Linked DNA regions of Homo sapiens: all the other regions are linked to region 1. Evidence: promoter capture Hi-C in 16 types of primary human blood cells and fetal thymus (Javierre and others, 2016). All regions are on one chromosome and are shown on one strand. The core of a region is centred on a gene start or on the middle of the fragment in contact, and the rest is flanking DNA. Distances in the headings are between cores, read along the strand shown. Region 1 holds the start of KRTAP29-1 (keratin associated like protein 29-1). Region 2 holds the start of KRT24 (keratin 24). Region 3 has its middle 13 kb from the start of KRT25.

What was found. The method cuts DNA at HindIII sites, captures the fragments that hold promoters and counts their contacts. A CHiCAGO score of 5 or more calls a contact.
Region 2: a contact is called between the fragment with the promoter of KRT24 here and the fragment with the promoter of KRTAP29-1 in region 1, in 1 of 17 cell types (erythroblasts). The highest score is 5.7, in erythroblasts.
Region 3: a contact is called between a fragment that was not itself captured here and the fragment with the promoter of KRTAP29-1 in region 1, in 1 of 17 cell types (endothelial precursors). The highest score is 5.2, in endothelial precursors.

Annotation. Positions count from the first base shown.
Region 1 is chr17:41,301,479-41,304,345 of GRCh38, reverse strand. It overlaps KRTAP29-1 (keratin associated like protein 29-1), which reads left to right and starts at 1,495. Exons shown (of 1, transcript NM_001257309.1): 1 at 1,495-2,520. The coding sequence starts at 1,495. The coding sequence ends at 2,520. The HindIII fragment of the contact is 6,603 bases long and covers 715-2,867 here.
Region 2 is chr17:40,702,366-40,705,232 of GRCh38, reverse strand. KRT24 (keratin 24) reads left to right here and starts at 1,481. Exons shown (of 8, transcript NM_019016.3): 1 at 1,481-2,154. The coding sequence starts at 1,540. The HindIII fragment of the contact is 6,314 bases long and covers 794-2,867 here.
Region 3 is chr17:40,740,644-40,743,510 of GRCh38, reverse strand. No RefSeq gene overlaps it. Among named protein-coding and RNA genes, the nearest start is that of KRT25, 13 kb to the left of the region's middle. The HindIII fragment of the contact is 1,908 bases long and covers 562-2,469 here.

The sequences.
Region 1 (2,867 bases), core at 246-2,745:
CACACCGTGATCTTTCCACTCCGTCATGTGCCTCCAGCGTGAACCGGCCAGAACGTTGGCTGGTGTAGAACACCGGACCTGGTTGGTGATGCGGAGCCAGGACAAGCCCGGAGGAAAAGCAGAAGGGCCAAGAAAGTCCCTCACGAATTCCTCTTGGAAGGGATTGGTTTAACATTAACACCACTTTACAGTGATTTTTTTTATTATCACTGCTGGCGTGTTTTTATTTGTATAGAATTCATATGCTATTGATGCCCTAGGGTGGGTTTGATACTTCCTGATGAAATATTTGGTAGTTTAAAAAATTTCCAAAATTAAAAGACTGTGTTTGAGTGTATTGATAAGTAGAGGTAAGTACTCACACCAGTGTGGTCTAGCTGCTGATTACAGTCACTGGAGTGGGCGGAGGATCCCCAGGATGGGGCCTGGGCAACCTGCTCACGAGCCAGTCTGTTGCCATAGGGGTGTCAGCCTGCAGCCACTATATCAGTGTCGCCTTCTCCCTGCCTCCCCAAAGTCAGGGGGTCTAATAGGTGGTTAAGATCAGGGGTTTGGTGGTCAGACAAAGCTAGGTTTGAATTTTGTTTCTACCCCTTTTCATTTGCATAATTTTGGGAACATGATTTAAACTCTATGAGTTTTGCCACTTCTGTTTTCTTCTTTTCTGTTCTAAAAAAATCTTGAGAGGAACCAATTTGGGGGAGATTTTAAGCTTCCTAAAAGGGCCAATGAAGTTTTATATTTTAATCTTAACTTTGTTTTAAACCTGGTTTCTTCTTTATTTATTACTTTTTTTTAGTTTTGCCACTTCTAACATAGTGATGACAATTATACTTACTGAAGTCATTGTGAGGATCCAGTGAAAAATGCAGCCAAGGACTTGATCTAGTAACTATGCAATAAATGAAAGCCATTTCTATTGTTATTATTAGTAATAGTACTAGTAAACAAGTTTCAGGAATGATAAATGGGAAGGTTTTAAAAAGAGGTAGAGGCACTTAAGTGTCCCTGGGTTCCTTGGACTAATTTTCCATTTCCCGTCTTGACATCCTCTCCCCAAACTGGGTCAAGGCTTCATTTCTGATTGAATGGTGCAAAGCTGCATTCCTGGAGGAACAGCAGGGCCACTCTGGCTTGGCAGAGGCCTCCTGATGAAAGGTTAGTGCCAGGAAAGGCCTGCTTCAGTGAGGCTGGAGAGCAACCTGTAAAAGAGACAGCTCATCCAAGAGCAGGAGCAGTGTCAACGAATCCAAATGCAGCGCAGAAAACTCCCGACTCAACAGACACCTTTTCAAAGTTGAAACATCTCCCAGGCTCCTGAAGCCTGCTAATCAGATGTTTGCATGCAAATGAGTAAAAACAATAACAAGGAAAGATGCTGCATGGCGTGCCAACACCCCTAGTGAAGGACTATAAAAGCCCCTCTGTATCGGATGTCTTTCCAATGCAGGTATACTGAGCTTGCAACTTCCCAGCAAGGTCAGCACCAGCACCATGGCAGACGGCTGTTGTCCTGGAAACACCACAGCCATTCCAGCTGTGCCCACCATCACCACATACCCAGTTAAAGGTGGATTTCGACATGCTCTCTGTTTGCCTAGTTCCTGCCACAGCAGAATGTGGCAACTGGTCACATGCCAAGAAAGCTGTCAGCCATCCATTGGTGCCCCAAGTGGCTGTGATCCTGCTTCGTGTCAACCTACCCGCCTTCCAGCAACGTCTTGTGTGGGTTTTGTTTGCCAACCTATGTGCTCCCACGCAGCCTGCTATCAGTCTGGCACTGGTCAGTCTCCTTGTCTGGTTAGCTCATGTCAGCCATCCTGCTCGGAATCTACTTGTTGTCAGGAAAAGTGCTGCGATGCCAGTCCCTGCCAGCAAAGCTCCTGCCAGGAATCTGTCTGCATGTCTGGATCATGTCAGGCAGCTTGTGGCCAATCAGTCTGCTGTGATGCTGGATCCTGCCAGCCATCCTGCTCTGAAGTGACCTCCTGTCCGGAAACTTCTTGCCTACCAACCATCTGTACAGCTAGTCCATGCCAACCAACTTGGTGCCAAGGAAGTTCATGTCAACCCGTCAGTGGTGAAGGCCAGCCCTGTAAATCAACTTATTATCAACCCATCTGCTATATTTTCAAGCCTTGCCAATCAGCCCTCTACATGCCTGTTCCCTGCCAGCCATCGACTTGTGTGTTCAGTTCTTGCAATACTACTTGCTGTGTGCCTTCCCATTGCCAGCCACCTCACTGCCAACTGGTTCCTTCCACATGCTTCATCTACCAGCCAGTGGCTAACTGCCAGGCCCCTTGTTCCACAAAGAACTGTTGCAAACCAGCTTCTTGTGACACTGTGATTTCTGGCCAACCAACTTGTGATGGACCCCCTTCCTATAACCAGAGTGGCTGCAAATCAGCTTGCTGTGTGACTGGTTTAGGCACATCACCCAGTAGTGGCTCCAATTGCTTGCCGACTTCATGCCAACCCAGCTGTGAGTCCAGCTTCTGCAAGGCAACACTTTGTTAATGGAGCCCTCTTCACACCTCCTCTGAGGGTCTGCGGCTGTCTATAAATGCATAGCCATCCCTGGGTGCCTGCCTCCCACCGAGTACAAATGCTGCCTGCTTTCTAACTTTACCCTGATTCCACCTTCACATTCTCTCCAGGTGCTGACCAGGGAACTTGTCCAGGCACGAAGAGATCCTTCTTAACCGAGAATAACCTTTCAGCAACCATGGACTACCACACTGCTGCTTGCATTTCCTGATGATGTCAATTCATTTCACTTTAGCAAACCCTCTCTTGTTTCTCTTTCTTGATGCTGCCTGGTCTTTCAGAAGACCTCGTTGCTGCCAGCTGCTAATAAAAATGTG
Region 2 (2,867 bases), core at 232-2,731, 600 kb after region 1:
AACCAATCTCCCAAACTCTTTTCTTTTTTTTTTTTTTAGACGAGTCTCACTCTGTCTCTGAGGCTGGAGTCCAGTGGCACAATCTTGGCTCACTGCAACCTCTGCCTCCCGGGTTCAAGCAATTCTCTGCCTCAGCCTCCCAAGTAGCTAGGATTTCAGGCGCCTGCCACCATGCCTGGCTAATTTTTTGTATTTTTAGTAGAGACGGGATTTCACCATCTTGGCCAGGCTGGTCTCGAACTCCTGACCTCAGGTGATCCACCTGCCTCGGCCTCCCAAAGAGCTGGGATTACAGGTGTGAGCCACCACGCCTGGCCCCAAACTCTTTTCATATTGCAAAATTAAAATTCTATGCCCAGTAAGCAACAACTGTCTATCCCCAACCCTTCGGCCACTGGCAACTACCATTCTACTTTCTGTCTCTGTGAATTTGACTACTCTAGGCACCTCATAGTACTGGAATTATACAGTATCTGTCTTTCAAAAAGACACTATTAAACCGGTGAAGTGACTAGAAGACATGAATGGAAACAGTCTAAAATACAAAGGGACAAAAAGCCATGAAGCACAAAGGGAGCTCAGGAGGGTTCAGAATCTATAAAATAACTCCAATTGTAACACTAGTTATCAGAAGTAGATACAAATCCTCTTTTATCTTTAAAACGAAGGCAGGAGATATCTGCATCATCTCTTCATTTCTTGAAATTTGACTCAAAAAGGAAGTTGCTGTCTTTATATCAGACTAGAATTCAACCAGAAAGAAAATCGTATTAAAACAATCTGCCTAAAAGCTTTTCAATCTTTCTTAGACATTAGCTACTTGAATAAACATGTTGCTGAGATGTAATAATACTTACCTAGAAAACTATTATTTATGTTTTTCTTATGAACTATAAAACATAATTGTTACAAATTATATGCTTTTTTGTATATTATACAAAATACAAAAAAAGAAAGCAATAACTTAAAATCACAAACTTCAACAACCTTAAAAAACACGCTGATTGAAATAATCAAAGAGATGGATGCTTAATCAAATCTGAAATTATTGCTGATGTGAAAGCTAATTTCAACTTTTGAGAACAATATGAACAAAAAAGTTACATGATTGATGGGAAATTTTTATTCTCATCATATTAAGTATTTTAATTACATTTGTTAACCTGGAGATATTCTCTGCAAATGTGAAATCATGAAGCAAATTTAATAGAACTACACTTCCAGAGAAAAGTTACCAATCATCAAAACCTCTGAAAGATTAAAACTGTAATTCTGAAAATTTTTTTGTTTTGCTCCACTTTATTCTTTTTTTATTGATATAGTAAATGTCCCAGGGCTCTGACCTAGCTTCAGAGAAGTGTTCAAGAAACAGAAATTATCCAATTACGGATTACCAAAACTGTAACAGGGATTAAGAAGTGACAGAGAAAAGGAACACCCTCGAAGTGTGTATATAAAGGCCAAAAAGGCAGCCTTGAATACACTCTTCGTCATCACCTCTCCTATTCGCCTGGACAAGCTCATGTTTGCAGGAGCACCATGTCTTGCTCGTCTCGCGCCTCCTCCTCCAGGGCTGGAGGCAGCAGCTCAGCCAGGGTGTCTGCTGGTGGAAGCAGCTTCAGCAGTGGAAGCAGATGTGGTCTGGGGGGCAGCTCGGCCCAGGGCTTCCGAGGAGGAGCCAGCAGCTGCAGCCTGAGTGGGGGGTCTAGCGGTGCTTTTGGGGGCAGCTTTGGAGGGGGCTTTGGTAGCTGCTCAGTAGGGGGTGGTTTTGGGGGAGCTTCAGGCTCTGGGACAGGATTTGGTGGGGGTTCTAGCTTTGGCGGGGTCTCTGGATTTGGCAGGGGTTCTGGATTCTGTGGGAGTTCTAGATTCAGCAGTGGTGCTACTGGAGGCTTCTACAGCTATGGTGGTGGTATGGGAGGTGGTGTTGGCGATGGGGGGCTTTTCTCTGGAGGGGAAAAGCAAACCATGCAGAACCTCAATGACCGCTTGGCCAATTACCTAGACAAGGTCAGAGCCCTGGAGGAGGCTAACACTGATCTGGAGAACAAAATCAAGGAGTGGTATGACAAATATGGGCCTGGGTCTGGAGACGGTGGATCGGGAAGAGATTATAGCAAATACTATTCAATAATTGAAGATCTCAGAAACCAGGTGAGACTATCTGTGCCTGAGTTTCTATTATTTGTGGATCTTTCACTTCTTTTCAGATCATGTACTATAATGAAAATTTTAAGAAATTATTTGAAAACATATTTGCTTGTTACATATGCAAAGTGGGACCTGATGTGTCTTAATTATTATAGTACCTTATGTGATGTCCAATCACATTAATTTTCTGTTTCCATCTCAGTTTCAGTATTTCTACATAACAGTAAAACTTATACAACACCAGGCAGCTAATTATCATTTATATATAAGAATGGTGGCAGTGAGTCAACATTAGTTTAATCTAATTATTTATGATGAATTCTGACAGACTGACACATTTTATTGTCTTACAAGATTTAAATATTCTTTAGTATTATTTTTCTTCCCAGAAAATCTGGTGCAAACATTACATAAGAATGTAGTAGAATCTAAAATGTTTAGCCACTTTTGTATGGGAAATATATTTTTAAAGACTTTTTTGGAAGTGAAATACAATTTTTGCACTATTTTCTGAAAAAGCTCATGAGATAATGATCTAACAAAGTAGCAGAAATATGCAGAGGACTATGTCCTGTAAAACAGGTTCCTGTGCCTAGTCCAATAAATGTGCAGACTGTTATCTTTTTGCAGAAAGATGTAGTCCTAAATATACCAGCCCCAGATATACAGGTCTGGGGCTGTATACTTAGTCATTACTAAGTAAGTTTGCAAAGCAA
Region 3 (2,867 bases), core at 266-2,765, 560 kb after region 1:
ATGGCCAAAATCCACACTATCTTGCTGCATGAAAATAACTTTAAGCTGGGAATTTACTTTAAGAGGGTTCCCAACCACTGGTACCTCCCTGGGGGCCGAACAGAAGCAAATGCAAATTCTCTTTAGATAGACCCACTATCATCCCAGGCCTCAAATGATTCTCATAAATAAAATTTTAAGGAAAATTAGCTGTTGGTAATCAGAAATTGCTAAACAAGTTACTATGAGCAAGAGCCAATAGAAACAATTTTAAAATATAGAGCATAAAAAATGATCAATATACTTTTAAAACTAAAACTTTGAAAATATAAGCAGAATCCAAAACACTATGAAGAATGACTAAGGATATTTGAAAAGAACCAAATATAAACTTCTAGATATAGGTAAGAAATAACATTTAAAATATCAATGTTTAGATCCAATAGTAGATTAGACACAGTGGGAGAAAGAATTAGTAAACTGAAAAGTAGAATGAGGGAATTATCCAGACTTCAGCACAGAGAGAAAAAATTAGGTAGGTAAGTAGGTAAGTAGATAGATGGATAGACACATAGATAAGCTTAAGAGAAGCATAAAAGAGGATAAAGGATAAAAAGAGACAGCCCTATTAAAAATGGCACAAAAATTTGAACAAGCTCCTCACTGAAGAGGAAATCCATACATTCAATAAACATGAAATATACTCAATCTTATTAGTAACCAGAGAAATGCACATTAAAAATCACAGTTAGCTTCCATTTCACACTTCCCAACTTGTCAAGTATCAAAAAGTCTTCCTGTATCAAATATATATGAGTATGTGGAGCAACAGAAACTCATACTTTTGTGAGGTTGTAACTCTGAACTTCGAAAATTCGGTTTCACCTAATCAACTTGGATATATGCATATTCTATGCAGTGGGTTGAATATTTACAATCTTCCAAAATTTCTATGTGGAAGCCTAGGTGATGGTATGAGGAGGTGGGGTCTTTGGGAAGTGATTAGGTCATAAGGGTGGAGGCCTCATGATTGAGAATGGTACCCTTAATAAAGAGACCCAGAGAACTCCCTTGCCCTTCCACCTTGTGAGGACACAGTGTTACATGGCACAGAAGGTGACATCTATGAACAAGGAAGTGGACTCTGATCAGACATCAAAGTGGCCAGCACTTTGATCTTGAACTTCCCAACCCCCAGAACTGTGGGAAATAAATCTCTGTTGTTTATAAGCCACCTAGTGTATGGCATTTTGTTACAGTAGACCAAACAGATTAAGGAGGTCTAAAACTTGGAAAGACCCTTACACAGGTGCACCAGGAGACATGTCCAAGAATGTTCATGCAACATTGTTCATAGTAGTTAAAAACTAGGAACAATCCAAATACTAGCCATCAATGGTAGGATGGATAAATAAAGTGAAGTCTATAACAAAAAATGCTATCCAACAGTGGAAAATAATGGACTATAAACCCCTGTGGTGATGCTGTGATCCCACTGGCTACCCAGATCCAGCAGGCTTCCAATGGAGAGCTTTTCATCCCAGCTGCATAGGTATTGGCAGCAGGCAGTCCTCAGCCATCAGCCCCTCAGGGGTTGCTTCAGCTGCAGTGTCACCTCACCTGAGTTCACACCCTACATCCAATGAATAATTGATACAGAAGTATAAAGGCTTGGCCATCTTGGCCCCACTCAGGACAATACTGAGCTCCAGAGCTCCTCATGGAAGCTCACTTTCTACCTGTGCCCAATCCTGCTTTCTTCTCCCCTTCCACAGGTATTGATCCCAGGGCAATCTTTAATAAGCACCCTGCACACTGAACTCAGCTCTGACTCTGCTTCCCAGAGAATCAACCTACAACTGCCGCACACATCAACAATGATGAGTTACAGAATCATAAAGCCAAATGAAGGAAGCAAGTCCCAGCAGAGTGCATAAGGCGGATTCCATTGTATAAAGTTCCAAATAGAAAAACTAAACAAGATATTGTTTAGAGGTGCATATGTAGATAGCAAAACCTTTTTTAAAGGCAGGTGAAAGGTTTTCTTCCCTTCTGACACCAACTCAGTGTCCTACAATTCAATTCAATTCTAACACTAACACCCTGGAGTTAGTGTCAGACTCCACGTGTCTAAAGGCTCAGTCCCACAAGACTGTCCTCACATCAGATACCAGCCACAAGTATCAGGCCCGCAGGTTACCCACACTTCTGTCTGACATGGCTACAAATTCAGGGTTCTCACAACCTCCCCCTCCGCAAAGTTCAATAATTCTCTAGAATGACTCACAGAACTCAGGTAAGTGCTTTACTTATTATTGTGGGTTTACTATAAAGGATACAACTCAGCAACAGCTGAATACAAGAGATGCCCGGGGCAAGGTCAGGGGCGAGGAACACGGAGCTTCCATGCCCTGTCCGGGTGGGCCACCTCCCAGCACCTTGATGTGTTCACCAATCCAGAAACTCTCTGAACCCCCTCATTTAGAAGCTTTTATTGAGGTTTCATCATGTAAGCATGATCGATTATTAACTCAGTCTCCAGCCTCTGTCCCCTCTCTGGAGGGTGGGGAAGGGTTAGGGCTGAAATGTCTAGGCTTCTCATCAAGGTTTGGTCTTTCTGGCAGCCAGCCCCCATCCTAAAGCTACTTAGCGGCCCACCAAGAGTCACCTCATTAGAACCAAAGATGCTCCTATCACACAAGAAATTTCAAAGGATTTAGGAGCTCTGGGTCAGGACAAGAAAAGATGCTTCTATCACTGAGGAAATTACAAGGATTTTAGAAGCTGTGTGCCAGGAAATAGAGACAAAGGCCAACTATATATTTCTTATTATTTCACAGCAAGTAATAAAGAAAACTCAGGATAGTGATGACACCTGAGCAGTAATA